3 separate regions of the Homo sapiens genome follow, and regions 1 and 2 are each linked to region 3. Evidence: promoter capture Hi-C in 16 types of primary human blood cells and fetal thymus (Javierre and others, 2016). All regions are on one chromosome and are shown on one strand. The core of a region is centred on a gene start or on the middle of the fragment in contact, and the rest is flanking DNA. Distances in the headings are between cores, read along the strand shown. Region 1 overlaps OSGIN2 (oxidative stress induced growth inhibitor family member 2). Region 2 holds the start of TMEM64 (transmembrane protein 64). Region 3 holds the start of RBM12B-AS1 (RBM12B antisense RNA 1).

Region 1 (4,298 bases), core at 1,716-4,215, 3.8 Mb before region 3:
TGACATTATAGTACTCTAAGGTAATGTTTACAGTTACCTTAACCACAACACTACTATTTTATATCCTTTGTATCACCTCAGCAGATAGGCATTTAAGATATTAAAAATTAAACTATTAATAAAACATTCAGATTTATAAGCTTTTATAATTTAGTTTTATTGCATGCATTTAATTACCTGTTATGTATATTTTTCATCTAATATACAAAGTCGAGGAATTCAGACAAGGAATATAGTGTGAAGCTAACTAAGCCAGAGGAGAGAGTTAAGGAATATAGGTGCCTTGGTAGCATATGACTTCCTTTGTTTCTTTGACAGCTTGTTTCAAAGTTAGTAGGAAGGGGAGAAAATTCATGTCCTCTGGCTTGTGGGAGGAAAAGAGGAGAGCAAGATTGTTCTATACTAGGTTCTATACTAGATTCTCCTCTACAGGATATGATAGAGGTGACAGTTTTTGTAATAGTTCTCAACCAAGAGATATCAGGGACCATACGTCATGTTTCATTTTCCCCCTTACCTCTAACCTTGGTTTTCTATCCTGAATGAATGGAGGAATCCTGTCTTCTTGTGTGGCTAGGCTGTGGGAAGGTCAGAAAAGAAAAACTTAACCTTCATTTGCACCTGCCCACTCCACTTCCCACAAAGCAGCCTATCCCTGTTTTGCCTCAGCTAGCTGTGAGTAGCTTAGCCTCATGTATATTTATATAGTGTCATTACTGTTGACAATGGCACCACCAGCCTGAGCATAAAGAGCTAATTTCTTAAATATATGTTTTCTGTTGCCGCTGTAACAAATTACCACAAAACTAGTGGCTTTAAACAATGTGAATGTATTATTCTACTGTTCTGTGGGTCAGAAATTCAACATGGGTCTTCCTGGGCCAAAATCAAGGTGTTGGCAGGGCTGTGTTGCTTTCTGGAGGCTCTAGGGAAGAATGTTTCCTTTTCCTGGCTCCCTTCTGTAGCTTCAAAATCAGCAATGTTGTTTCTTAACCTTCTTTCATTGTCATGTCTCCCTTTCACCACAACTGGGAAAAGTTCTCTATTTTTAAGGACTCTTGTGATTAGATTGGGTCTACCTGGGTAATCTAGACTACTCTCCATCTCAGGATCCTTAATCATATCTACAGAGTCCTTTTGCTCTGTAGTAACATTTACAGGTTCTAGGGGATAGGACTGGGACATCTCTGGGCACAGTGGATCACGCCTGTTATCCCAGAACTTTGGGAGGCTGAGGTGGGCTGGATCATCTGAGCACAGGAGTTCGAGACCAGCCTGGCCAACATGGTGAAACCCCGTCTCTACTAAAAATACAAAAATTAGCCGGGCATGGTGGCGGGCAACTGTAATCCTAGCTACTTGGGAGGCTGAGGCAGGAGGATCGCCTGAACCCAGGAGGTGGAGGTTGCAGTGAGCCGCGATTGCGCCATTGTACTCCAGCTTGGGCGACAAGTGAAACTCTGTCTAAAAAAAAAAAAAAAAAGAAAAGAGGGCCAGGCCTGGTAGCTCACACCTGTAATCCCAGCACTTTGAGAGGCTGAGGCGGGCATATAACAAGGTCAGGAGATCGAGACCATCCTGGCTAACAGGGTGAAACCTTGTCTCTACTAAAAATACAAAAAATTAGCCAGGCATGGTGGCGAGTGCCTGTAGTCAGTCCCAGCTTCTCGGGAGGCTGAGGCAGGAGAATGGTGTGAACCCGTGAGGCAGAGGTTGCAATGAGCCGAGATCGCACCACTGTACTCCAGCTTGGGCGACAGAGCGAGACTCCGTCTCAAAAAAAAAAAAGATATAAAATTAGTTCTAAATATTTTTTATTTTTCTTTCAGTCTTTAAGGCTTCCTATTCTAGAATTATAAGTTGAAATCTTTCTCTGCTTTCTCTGTTTCTAGTATTCTTATGGTTTTACTTTTCTTATATCTTTGAGTATATTTTATTTGGGGTAACATATTAGGTAAGGAACAGGATTTTTTCTTTGCAGCTAGCAATTCTCTAGGTTGGATTAAATTTTTGAAAGGCAGATATAATAAGTGGTAATCCAGAATAAAGGAATTATTAATTCATAAATGGAAGTAGTTCAGGAAATCCAGTTTGGTTTTAGTTAAAGCATATAAACATATAGGAAAGCAATATCAGGATTTAGGACTGGAAAGATGGTTGAGATGTATAATCACCTGGCAGTTTCTTGCCTGCTGCACAGACAAAACCATTTCACTGAGACCATGGCGTTGCAGTAAAGAAGTTGACACAAGGCCAGCCCATGTGAGAGAACTGCAGTTGTTCAAATTAGTCTCCTGATAAAACTCCTGATTGGTTGGGCGTGATGGCTCATACTTGTAATCCCAGCACTTGGGGAGGCTGTGGTGGGTGGATCAAGAGATCAAGACTGTCCTGGCCAACACGCTGAAACCCCGTCTCTACTAAAAATACAAAAATAAGCTGGGTGTGGTGTCGTGTACCTCTAGTCCTAGCTACTTGGGAGGCTGAGGCAGGAGAATCGCTTGAACCCAGGAGGCAGAGGTTGCAGTGAGCCGAGATCATGCCACTGCACTCCAGCCTGGTGACACAGCGAGACTCTGTCTGAAAAAAAAAAACACAACGAAAAAAACAAAACTCCTGATCCCTCCTGATGGCTTGGAGGTTAGGGTTTTTCAAGGATAGTTGGGTGAACAGGGGACTAGGGAATAGGTGCTGCTGATTGGTTGGGGATGCCATGCTGGGGGTATCAAAAATGGTTCTCTAGCACTGAGTCCAACTCTGGGTGGGGGGCCGCAGGACTGGTTCAGTTGAGTCTTGGGTCTGAGTCTTGAATCTTGGGACCAATAGAGTCAGACAGTCATCAGAAATGCAAAAGTCTGAAAAGACATTTCAAAAGGCCAACCTCAGGATCCACAGTAGCGATGTTATCTGTAAGAGCAATTAGGGAAGTCACACATCATGTGACCTCTGGCTGCGTGACTCTTCAGCAGTAAAGGATTATAGAAACTCTGCCTACATCTTAGCAGAATTCCGGCACCTCTCATAATCCGAACCTTGTGGCCTTTCATTAGTTTTAGAAAGGCGGTTTAATTTTGGGAAGGACTGTTACCATCCTTGCTTTAAGGTTAAACTATAAATTCCTTCCATGATTAGCTTTGCCTATACCCAGGAGTGAGGGAAGACAGCCGGCCTTTGAAGCTAGAAGCAAGATGGAGTCAGCCATGTTAGATTTCTCTCACTGTCATAATCTTTGCAAAAGTTGTTTCAAATGGAGAACACTGGATAGTCAGAAACAAACAATGAAGACCTTTAGAACAGAAGGCTAACATGATGAGGATTATGTTACCAAAACTTATGTGAATGTAGTATGTGAAATGATTGGGAGTGGGTGAATCTCAGGGCAGAGAAACAGTAGGAGACTTGTCTTTTAGGTGAAGTACAGGAATGAGAATAGCAAAGACAACTGACAAGATATAGGGGGCAAACTAGGTTTAGAACCAGAAACTGATTAACTTAGAAGTTTGCTAGTACCATACTTTGAGATAGGATAGGGTTTGAAGGAGAGGGCACCTCAATGAAGGGACTCATGAGCTTGCTTTTGAGCACATTACATTAAAGTTATTAGTGGGCCATTCTATCAGGTAGAATCAAGAAGTGGAATGGAAATGTGGGATATATCCTTGGGAAATAGGTCAATTTAGAGAACTAATTTTGGATGTCAGTAGCCTAGAGAGTTGAAGCCTTGAGTAGATGAGATTCCCAAAAGAAAATAGGAGAGAAGGCAGAGGTTAAAATCTCATGAAACATCTGGTTTTAAGAGATTAGAAAAGGAAGAACTGGTCAGAGAAAAGAGCCATCTTCAAAGTAGGACAAAAGCCAAGGAACAAGAGTATTAAGATGCATGACCTACCCCTTTCCACCTTTTATTTTTAATAGGAAATGGACCCTCAGGAATATGCCTTTCTTATATGTTATCAGGCTACAGACCGTATTTATCATCAGAAGCAATACACCCAAATACAATCTTAAATAGTAAATTAGAAGAAGCAAGACATCTTTCCATTGTTGATCAGGTATTATTTCTTACATGTCAATTTAAAAAATTTTTTTATGCTGAAACAAGATTAGTTTTTATTTATATGAACTTTCTTAGTTGAAACCCCTTATTCTAAATAACACCTTATATCATTTTTATTTTAGATTCGTAAATGTATTCTGAGTTACTTCTGTTTATTTTCTTGAATTTATTAGAGCAGAGTTTTCTGAATTATTTTCTAATGGAGATTTAGTAGGTGCTCTGTGGTCAAGTTGGGGGTACT
Region 2 (4,412 bases), core at 238-2,737, 3.1 Mb before region 3:
GCTTTTCATTTTTAATTACATTCCCATCCCTAAAAGAAACATTAGTTTTTTATCTAACAAACTCTCTTTCGAGGCTCCGCGTTAGGTATGTTTTATGTGTAGGACAGACTTCCCAGGCTGCGATGGAAAGTAATCGTAACTCCTGCCGTCAATGTCACTTCTCTGCTGGTATTTATCTGATAGAGCGCCCTCCTAGGGCCGCCACAAGACCGCTCAAAAACAGACTTGGAGAGGGATAGGCCAGCGGGACCCCACTTACCGAAAACACTGCATTCTGAAGCCCAAAAGGTATGGGTGTCAGTCTGGCCAGCGCCACCACTTTCAGGCCGCTTCCTCCCTCCACTACGCGAATAACCGCGCTCAGCTTCTCGCTGCTCTGGATCCTGGCGGCCACCCAGGCGGTGAGGAGCCGCTTGCAGACCACATGGGCGATGAAGGTGCCGATGAGGACGCCCACCATCATCAGACCCATGCCCAGCACGAAGCCGTACAGGTAGCCAGCGGCCACGTTGAGCACGATGTAGCCCCAGCCGCAGGGGAAAGAGACCACGATGAAGCCCACGACGAAGAGCAGGACCCCCAGCAGCGAGTCAAGGCTCTCCACCCACAGCAGGAGGTGGTGAAGGTAGCGGCGGACCAGGGCCAGGGAAGCGAAGCACAGGGCGGCCAACACGCAGACCAGCACGAGGCTCCGGCACCAACAGGTGCTGCCGAGGCAGCAGCAGCGCCAGTTTCTCACCTCAGCCACGCCGACCACCACGCCGCCGCCGCCACTCCCGGGGCCGCCCGCCAAGGCCCCGCCCGGCTCCGGCAGCTCCGAAGCCTCGGGCGGACCGTGGCGCTCCAGATAGGCGCCGAGCAGGGCGCCCGAGGCCGCCGCTGCTGCCGCCGCCGCGCTCGCCCCGCCCCCGCGGGGAAGGCGGTCCGCCGGGCCGTCCCCGCCCGCACCCCGCGGCAGGGCCCAGCGGGCCGGCAGCTCGGCGAGGCCCGGGAGGGCGGCGTGCTGCAGCAGCCGGGGCAGCGCCTGGAGCAGGATCCCGCCCGGGCTCCGCATGCCTCGGCCCAGCGCGGGCCCTCAGCCGGCCAGCCCCTCCGCCGCGGCGCCCGTTAGGCAGCTGCCCTTCATGGCGCCCGGTTCGCCCGGCATCGACTCCCTGCGTCCGCTCAGAGGGTGGGAGACGGCCCGTAGAAGGGCGCGGAGTCAGCGGAGGAGCGACGGCCAGGCGGGGAGTGAGGAAACTCCTGCCCCAGCACCCACGGAGCCCACTCCGGTGGTGCCCGCCCCTTGTCGGCCAGAGGGGGCGGGGCCGCGGGCGATGGGGCGGAGCGGGCTGTGTTCTGGTCCGCTCCCGTGACGCGCTGCCCGCCAGGCTGCGGGGGTCGCGGGGCGTCCGCGTGGGCCAGCGGAGGCCCACAGCTGCGGAGGGAAACCACTGGGAGGGGAGAAGGAGCTCTAGGGAGAGCGAGGCTGCAACGAGGGGAGAGCCGGGCGACGGGCAGGGGCCCAGGCGCGCTCCCCGACTTCCCACAGGCGCGCGCATGCCTGCGTGTCAGGGCGCGCGCTCCCCCTCTCGGACCGAGGCGACCCCAGTCCGTGAGCGGCTTGGATCCTCGCCCGTTCCCTCCTGGTCGTTTCCGCAGTAACCTCTTATCAGAGCGGGCAGCTGTGAGTGGCGCTCACATCCGCCGCTGCCCTGTCGAATGGGGGAAAGAGTTCTTGTGTTCTGAGGAGGGTTTGGCTATGGTCCTTGACCCTATTCTTGTCTCAGACTTGCCTCCCAGGTATCGAGGTCTCCCTGTGGGTTTCATATGGCTTGGTCCTTTAGGAGCTGGAAAAATTAGGCATAAAGTCCCCCCACCCCCTTGACAGAACGCCCCTTCTGACTCCAGAGGTCCTTTATCGAGTGCCAGGCATTGGTCTAGGGGCATTTGAAAAAGATTCACTGAAGGACATTTTTAAGAGTTCGCTTTCTCAGAGGGCAGCTTCTCAAACTCATTCGCTGGTTTCTTTTCCTCTTTCCGCCTGTTTAAGGTTAGTGTTCCCCAGGTCCTCTTGCCGTCTTCCTTTTCAGAGTTTCCTGAGCCATCTCATCCAGGCCCAACAGCTTTGATCCTGCCGTGCCCCCCATAAGAAGTGACCCCTAAGTGAATGTCTCTGCCCACACTTCCCAGCTTGTGGTCCGGCCTGTGGACACATCCAGGTGGAATTCTGCAGGCAGCTCAAACTCAGCAGAGCTTGGTAGATAGATGATCAACTTGGGCTCTGGTGCAAATCACGTTTAGTAACTGGTCAAACAATCAGTCCCTGAATCTCATTGTTTCTTTTTAAATTGCAAAATGGAGATAATGGTACAACTTAGCTTCGTAAGAGTGTTGTGAGGATTAAACAAAATAGTAAAGTAAGGTGATTAGCACTATGCCTGAAATCAGTCGTCAGTAAATGTTAACTATGTGATGGTATCCCTCATTAAAAGTGTGATCCCCCATAGACCGACTCTTCCTTCTGGGTTTCATATCTCAGTGGATGACCTTCCACCCAGTTGCCTGCCAGATAACGGACCAGGACACCTTAGGTCGTTGCTGATCAGGCTCCTGCTTGCTGGCTGATCAGGCTCCTCCATGCCATTCCCTCCTATCCACCCTGGTTGGGCTGAGTCAGGTAGAGTCCCTACTAGGTGCCAGGCAAGTGCTACATCCTTCAACTCTCTTTTCCAAGCCTTGTGACTCACACGGAGGAGCAGCTCTTACTGCTGCCACAGCATTTACCTAAAGTTTTACTTCCGTAAAACAGTACCAAGGAGGGATAGTGCTAAACCATTCATGAGAACTCCATTTCCATGATCCAATCACCTCCCACCAGGCCTCTCCTCCAACAATGGGGATTACATACAGTTTGACATGAGATTTGGGCAGGGACACAAATCCAAACCATATCAGTCCTGCACTACCTTCCCTTCACCATCACCCTCAATTTGGTATTTCCTTTCCTTTCCCAGGCTACTTTCTGTATGGCCATTATCACATTTGTCCCGTTGTATTGTAATTTTTTGTTTACATCACTGTCTCCCTCTTTAAGCTTTGAGTTTCTTCAAGATGGGCCCGTTACTTATTTAATCTAAGGAGCAATGAGCCCTCTTTAAATGTTTGTTGCTTACACAAATGATTGCCATTTGTAGGGGGAAATGAAGGCAGGAAAACCAGACAAAATTGCATAGGCAAGAAGCTGTGAGGATCAGTGAAGTAGGATAATGGTCCTGGTGTTAGTTGAATGGGGATAAGTTTAAAGAGGAGCTGGGCAACTGATTTGTTTTCAGAAGAGAGGGAGAGGTCAAGGATAACACCTGGATTTCTTATTTAAAGTAATAGATAATGGGGCCATTGACCAAGAAAGCGACTACAGCAAGTCTGTAAGAAAGATAGCCTTCAGTCTTGATGCATGAGACTTGAGGTGCCTATGATAACATCCAAACGTGGTATTCCAGTAGATGGTTGAAAATATAGATAGGGAATTAAGTGGGGCATCTCTCCTAGAAATTTTGACATTGGTATATGGGCAGCAATTAAGACCATGTTTATGAATGAGTGCGTGGTGATAGGTGTGCCAAATATTTCCTGTTCTCTTACAGGAATATAGGAGGATTGTATGCCCTGGCCTCCCTGTGATGGGGTTGAACTACATGACATGTTCTCCGAATTAAGTGTGAGCATAGCATTTAATTGTTGATGCAAGACCTTCCAGAACTCTTTTTCTCTTTGCCATGGCAATCATCAGTGTTCCAGAGAGCATATGCACGATCAGCCTTGGTATTGGAGGGAAGATGATGCGGAACAGAGTCCCAGTCACATCATGAAGGACATGTAAAGTGAGAAGTAAACCTTGGTTGTTTTAAGCCATTGAGATTTGAGTTTTGTTACCAGAGCAGATCTTTGTCATCCTGGATAATGTGCCTGAGAAGAAGAGGTTTAAGGAAGAAAACTTGTGAACACCAATGTGCTTGTTAGACTCCTTTGCTTGTAAGAAAGAGAAACTCAAGAGACTAATGAAAAGAAGGAACAAGTGTTTATATGGGTATATGAGTAGCTATTAGGAGCCCAGGCATAAGCTACTCTCTTATTTCTTTCTCATTGTGTCTCTGCTCTTCTCTACCTCTTTAATCTATTCTCACACTACCAACTGGCTAATTAATCCACTTCTTATCCTTTAGTCTGCATTTCAGAAGAATATAAGCCAGTTCCAGAGCTCTTAGCTCTAAGTAGCTTCATGGGCTGCCAGCCAACCTGGAAATGAGCTACTCTTGGGTCAGGTGCCCATCCTGCTCTAAACAGTGTCACTCCTACCTGAAACATCATTTAGCTTTCCTGGGCATGGGACCTCTGGTACAGCAATGCAAGCAGTAGTGGGATATTTCTAT
Region 3 (4,224 bases), core at 1,104-3,603:
ATCTACTTCAAAAAACTGTTCTACAAGTAAAATCTCAATACCCAAAGTTCAAAAAAAAAAAAAAAAAAAAAAGAACTTCAATCATTTTGCCACATGAAAATCCAAAAATCTAGTACATATTTATATCCAACTCTCGTGCTGTTCTCCTCCCTTTCAAAACATAAGACCAAATCAAATTAAGGCAACCATTCAAAATTACACAATAAATGAATAAAACAGCAAAGCCTGAAATTCAAAAATCAATTTTTAAAACAATAAATCCAAACCTATGGGCTATTGTTTGGATACAATTTAAAGGTCTATATAAACAGCTCATACATCCAAGCACAGAACCAAATTTCATGAAGCCAGTATAATTAAGGCAAATACTACAATATCCCTAAAGTTAAAAATCTCAATACCACTCCTATTGCAAAAATAGTAACTGTTACAATTCATCTCAAGCCAAACAGAAAATGCTATTTATCTTATTAATAATGCCAATAGCAGATTTCCATTTCAAACAACTATTCTGCACTCTACTAAGGAAACCCAAATGATGATGTAGAAAAGTAAAATTAAAAATTAACTTGGAATACTGGGATTACCCGTTTACTGAAAAATCTCAATGTAATTTTTTAAAGAAGTTTGCGTTTAATACTTTCAGGGATACCCAAACTATTTCATGAAGACTTGCCAAATAAATAATTATAATTTACACTCACTTTCTTTGGTGGGGGAGACAGGGTCTCTCTTGCTCTGCTACCCAGGCTGGAGTGCACTGGTGCGATCTTGGCTCACTACAGCCTCGACTTACCCAGGCTCAGGCAATGCTCCCACCTCAGCCTCCCCAGTAGCTGGGACTACAGGTGTGCACCACCACACCCGGCTAATTTTTGTATTTTTTGTAGAGCCAGGGTTTCACCATGTTGCCCAGGCTGGTAGGGAACTCATGGGCTCAAGCAATCAGCTCACCTCAGCCTCCCACAGTGCTAGGATTTACAGGTATGAGCCACTGCGCCTGGAGTAATTTACATGTCTTTAATGTACAAATAAATGTTGCGTTAATCCAGAATCCAGTACTTACACTTAAGTACCACTGTTCCCCAAAGTGGGGGTCTGAAGATACATTCACTGAGGTCTGTTTTCCTTTAAAAAAGGGTACGTAGATTAACCAGAAGCTAAACTAGCAAAGACATCAAATTACTTCACACATTCTACATCTGAAAAATATTAATCAGGTTTGCTATTAAAGTATTTGCACAGTAACAAAAAAAGAAAAAAAGCCTATTTTCTTCAACAAACCAATATCCATACTAACACTTCAACAAAAACTACAAATGGCTTCTGGAATACTTACTTTATCCATATTAAAGTCCCAAGACTCCCTCCTATGCAAATTGGCTTAGCTACTCTTTTTAAGATATTTTAGAAAGCACCATAAGCTATACATATTCTTGTCTCTCCTAAGCTTTTAAAAAAATTTTAACGGGATTTACCCTGGGAACATAAATTCATCTACAAGAGAAATTAGAGACGTTTCAAGGAATAATTATATCTCAAATTCAAAAAAACTCTAGTAATTTATCCTACCTCACTTAAAAACTATCTTTTAACCAAGTAGTTTCATGAGCACAAATCTCATGAATTCCAATTCAAGCAGACTATTTAGAAAGTTTATTCTCATTTGCCACAGTTAAACAAAACTAATGCTTAAACTTCTCTACCCTTGAGACAGTAGGGTAATGTACCATTTATGCCTCTACAATAACACACCTTGGAGACCAACTGTAAGAGACCAGCTCTCAAAATGGGCACTTCTGTGGTTCCAACATGCTATATTTCCTTAAGCAAATTCTCCAGAAATTCAACTCTTAACACACTAAATTACACAAAAGCAAAACACGAAAATTACCCTCAAGTAGTCTGCAATTAAAATTTTGCGTTTTTCTAGTTATGAATGCAAAAAGTATTTTTGTGCCTTTGTGTTCATTTGAAGACAATAATCTGTTAAAATTTCTATGAAAAGAAGAGTGGGTCCCTAAAAGATCACTTAAGTCAGTGAAATTTAAAGCGCATTTTAAATAACTGCTATTTTTATCCAACGATTCATCCCACTTAATCACCATTATAACTAAACAATACGTAACGTGCCTCTTCTAATCAAGACTTAAGGGGATACAGAGAGGGAAACGGGAGGGAGACAGAATTTAAATAAGTAATATCTCATCAGATCCATTTGATTTTTAACTAGCGAAGAAAAAGTCATTTTCCAGATATGGTGAGGGAGAGAATTTTTTTTAACTCTGCGACTACTTCGTAAAGCCCAAGGTCATGATGTAGCATATTCACACTCTAAACGTGAGTTTCCCCTGCAGAAAATAATCTACACCAACCCATAATTATTCTTTACGATGATCCACCTTTTATAATGTAGATGTTTAAAATAAAAACCAAAGGAATGACCAATGAGAGCCACAGTCCCTAGGAAGAACTGTAAATGAAGACGAATCCACATGGCACAGGATTTCTCCCAACATCCTCAAACGGGAATCATCCGAAGGCATCGATTCTACAGCCCAAAGCCTTTGTCCACAACTCCCAGGGGTCAGAGCTTCCTTCTTTCGCGCCAGGCCAAAGTTGCTACGTGGGATCCGATGTTGTCGCCAGACTTTCAGCCAAAATCAGCCTTCAAATTAACCTGGACCGCCCAACCTCCGTGCCTTTCCGTTACGCCGTCTCAAGGGCAAACATTCCACCCTAACTCGCCAGAGGGTGAACTGCCCCCAGATCTAACTGAAAACACTTGCCCTTCTCAAGCCTAACGAGCTGGGCCTGCAGCGCTTTTCTGCCACCACTGACTACGATGACATAGCAAAGAAAAAAATATACCTATGAAATCCTTCGAGATCTTCACTCTCAAGATCCCTGGGAAGCGCACATACACCACCACATGGAAGCTGACGGGAAAGGAAGAGTCGGTGTTTTAGCAAGAAAAGAGGGTGCCCTAACGGCAGGAGCTACGCTAGATACTGGCGCGGCCGCCGGTCCCGCCTTTCCCCGTTCTTCCGGCTTGGTCGCCCAGCCCTCCCCACCCCCGGCGCCCCGAGGGGAACTGCTTCGCACTTGGCAATAAACACACACCACTGCTGCCGAGTCGGACACACAAGGCCGGAGGCTGAGGGAACTCTTCGTCGCAGCAGCCTCCCCAAAACAGGTAGACCCTCAGTGAGCCCAGAAGAAGATGGCGCCCACTGCCCCTCCGGTCCGGACAAACGGACGTACGGTTTATCTGCCCATGCGCTCTGCAGGCGCAACCCACCACCAAGCTTGCGCACGCGCGCTGCCGCTCACCCGTTTCCCCTCGCTAGAGGAGGGGAGGCGGAGCCCCGGGGTTGGCTGAGCTTCTGCGCATGCCCAGATTCTGCCCAGCCCAGGGACCTCGACTTTCAACGGGAGAAATTCAGAGACACATTCAGGGCTCAGCCGGTAGATGTGCTGAGAATCTTCGGTAGACAACTGTCGAAGTACGGCGGACAAACTTTAAAGATTTCCAGAAGTTAAGGAAAGAGATGCAAAAGCAGAGAAAAGGCGACTTGTCTTTTCAGTGTTGCATTACTGTGTGGCGTAAAACATCTTCTAAAAAGCTCCTGTGGCCGGGCACGGTGGCTCACGTCTGTAATCCCAGCACTTTGGGAGGCCGAAGCGGGCGAATCACTTGAGGTCAGTAGTTCGAGACCAGCCCGCCCAAAAAGCGAAACCCCCGTCTCTACTAAAAATACAAAAAAGTCAGCCTGGCATGGTGGCGGGCGCCTGTAATCCCAGCTACTCGGGAGGCTGAGGCAGGAGAATCGCTTGAACCCGAGAGATGGAGGCTGTAGTGAGCCGAGATCGCACCGCTGCACTCCAGCCAGGTCAAAAGAGTGAAACTCCATCTCAAAACAAAAATAAAAAAGCTCCTGTAGACCCTAGAATACCACAGAAAAGGTAATTTTACTGCCTTAGATGTTCGCCAAGTACAATCCCAACACCTGGGGGCTTAATAAATGCATGCTTAGTCGGTTTTATAGATATAAATAACCTTGTGAAGTGTCTTTATAAATTTGTTCCCATCTTCTGGATTTTTGAAACAAGAGAACAGATGAGCCAGTACTGAAATTTCAGTAATGGAAAAGCACTATTACAGGTGTACTCTGTGATGCCTGCTACGTAATAGCTGGTGAACAACCTTGTGTTTGGTTTTAT

What was found. The method cuts DNA at HindIII sites, captures the fragments that hold promoters and counts their contacts. A CHiCAGO score of 5 or more calls a contact.
Region 1: a fragment that was not itself captured here is called in contact with the fragment with the promoter of RBM12B-AS1 in region 3 in 1 of 17 cell types (neutrophils); the score reaches 6.1 in neutrophils.
Region 2: a fragment that was not itself captured here is called in contact with the fragment with the promoter of RBM12B-AS1 in region 3 in 3 of 17 cell types (total B cells, erythroblasts and total CD8 T cells); the score reaches 7.7 in total B cells.

What each region holds. Positions count from the first base shown.
Region 1 is chr8:89,910,162-89,914,459 of GRCh38, forward strand. OSGIN2 (oxidative stress induced growth inhibitor family member 2) reads left to right here. Exons shown (of 6, transcript NM_001126111.3): 3 at 3,916-4,052. Among named protein-coding and RNA genes, the nearest start is that of OSGIN2, 9.7 kb to the left of the region's middle. The HindIII fragment of the contact is 5,654 bases long and covers 139-4,298 here.
Region 2 is chr8:90,644,852-90,649,263 of GRCh38, forward strand. It overlaps TMEM64 (transmembrane protein 64), which reads right to left and starts at 1,232. Exons shown (of 3, transcript NM_001008495.4): 1 at 260-1,232. The coding sequence starts at 1,054. It overlaps LOC124906712 (translation initiation factor IF-2), which reads left to right and starts at 1,590. Exons shown (of 2, transcript NR_185471.1): 1 at 1,590-1,782; 2 at 3,627-4,412. RefSeq lists an enhancer at 259-588 and silencers at 699-1,098, 1,229-1,638. The HindIII fragment of the contact is 3,173 bases long and covers 1-3,074 here.
Region 3 is chr8:93,737,758-93,741,981 of GRCh38, forward strand. It overlaps RBM12B-AS1 (RBM12B antisense RNA 1), which reads left to right and starts at 2,354. Exons shown (of 1, transcript NR_027259.1): 1 at 2,354-3,062. RBM12B (RNA binding motif protein 12B) reads right to left here and starts at 3,252. Exons shown (of 4, transcript NM_001377960.1): 1 at 3,124-3,252; 2 at 2,872-2,939. RBM12B-DT (RBM12B divergent transcript) reads left to right here and starts at 3,326. Exons shown (of 2, transcript NR_183450.1): 1 at 3,326-3,702. RefSeq lists an enhancer at 3,159-3,278. The HindIII fragment of the contact is 1,858 bases long and covers 1,449-3,306 here.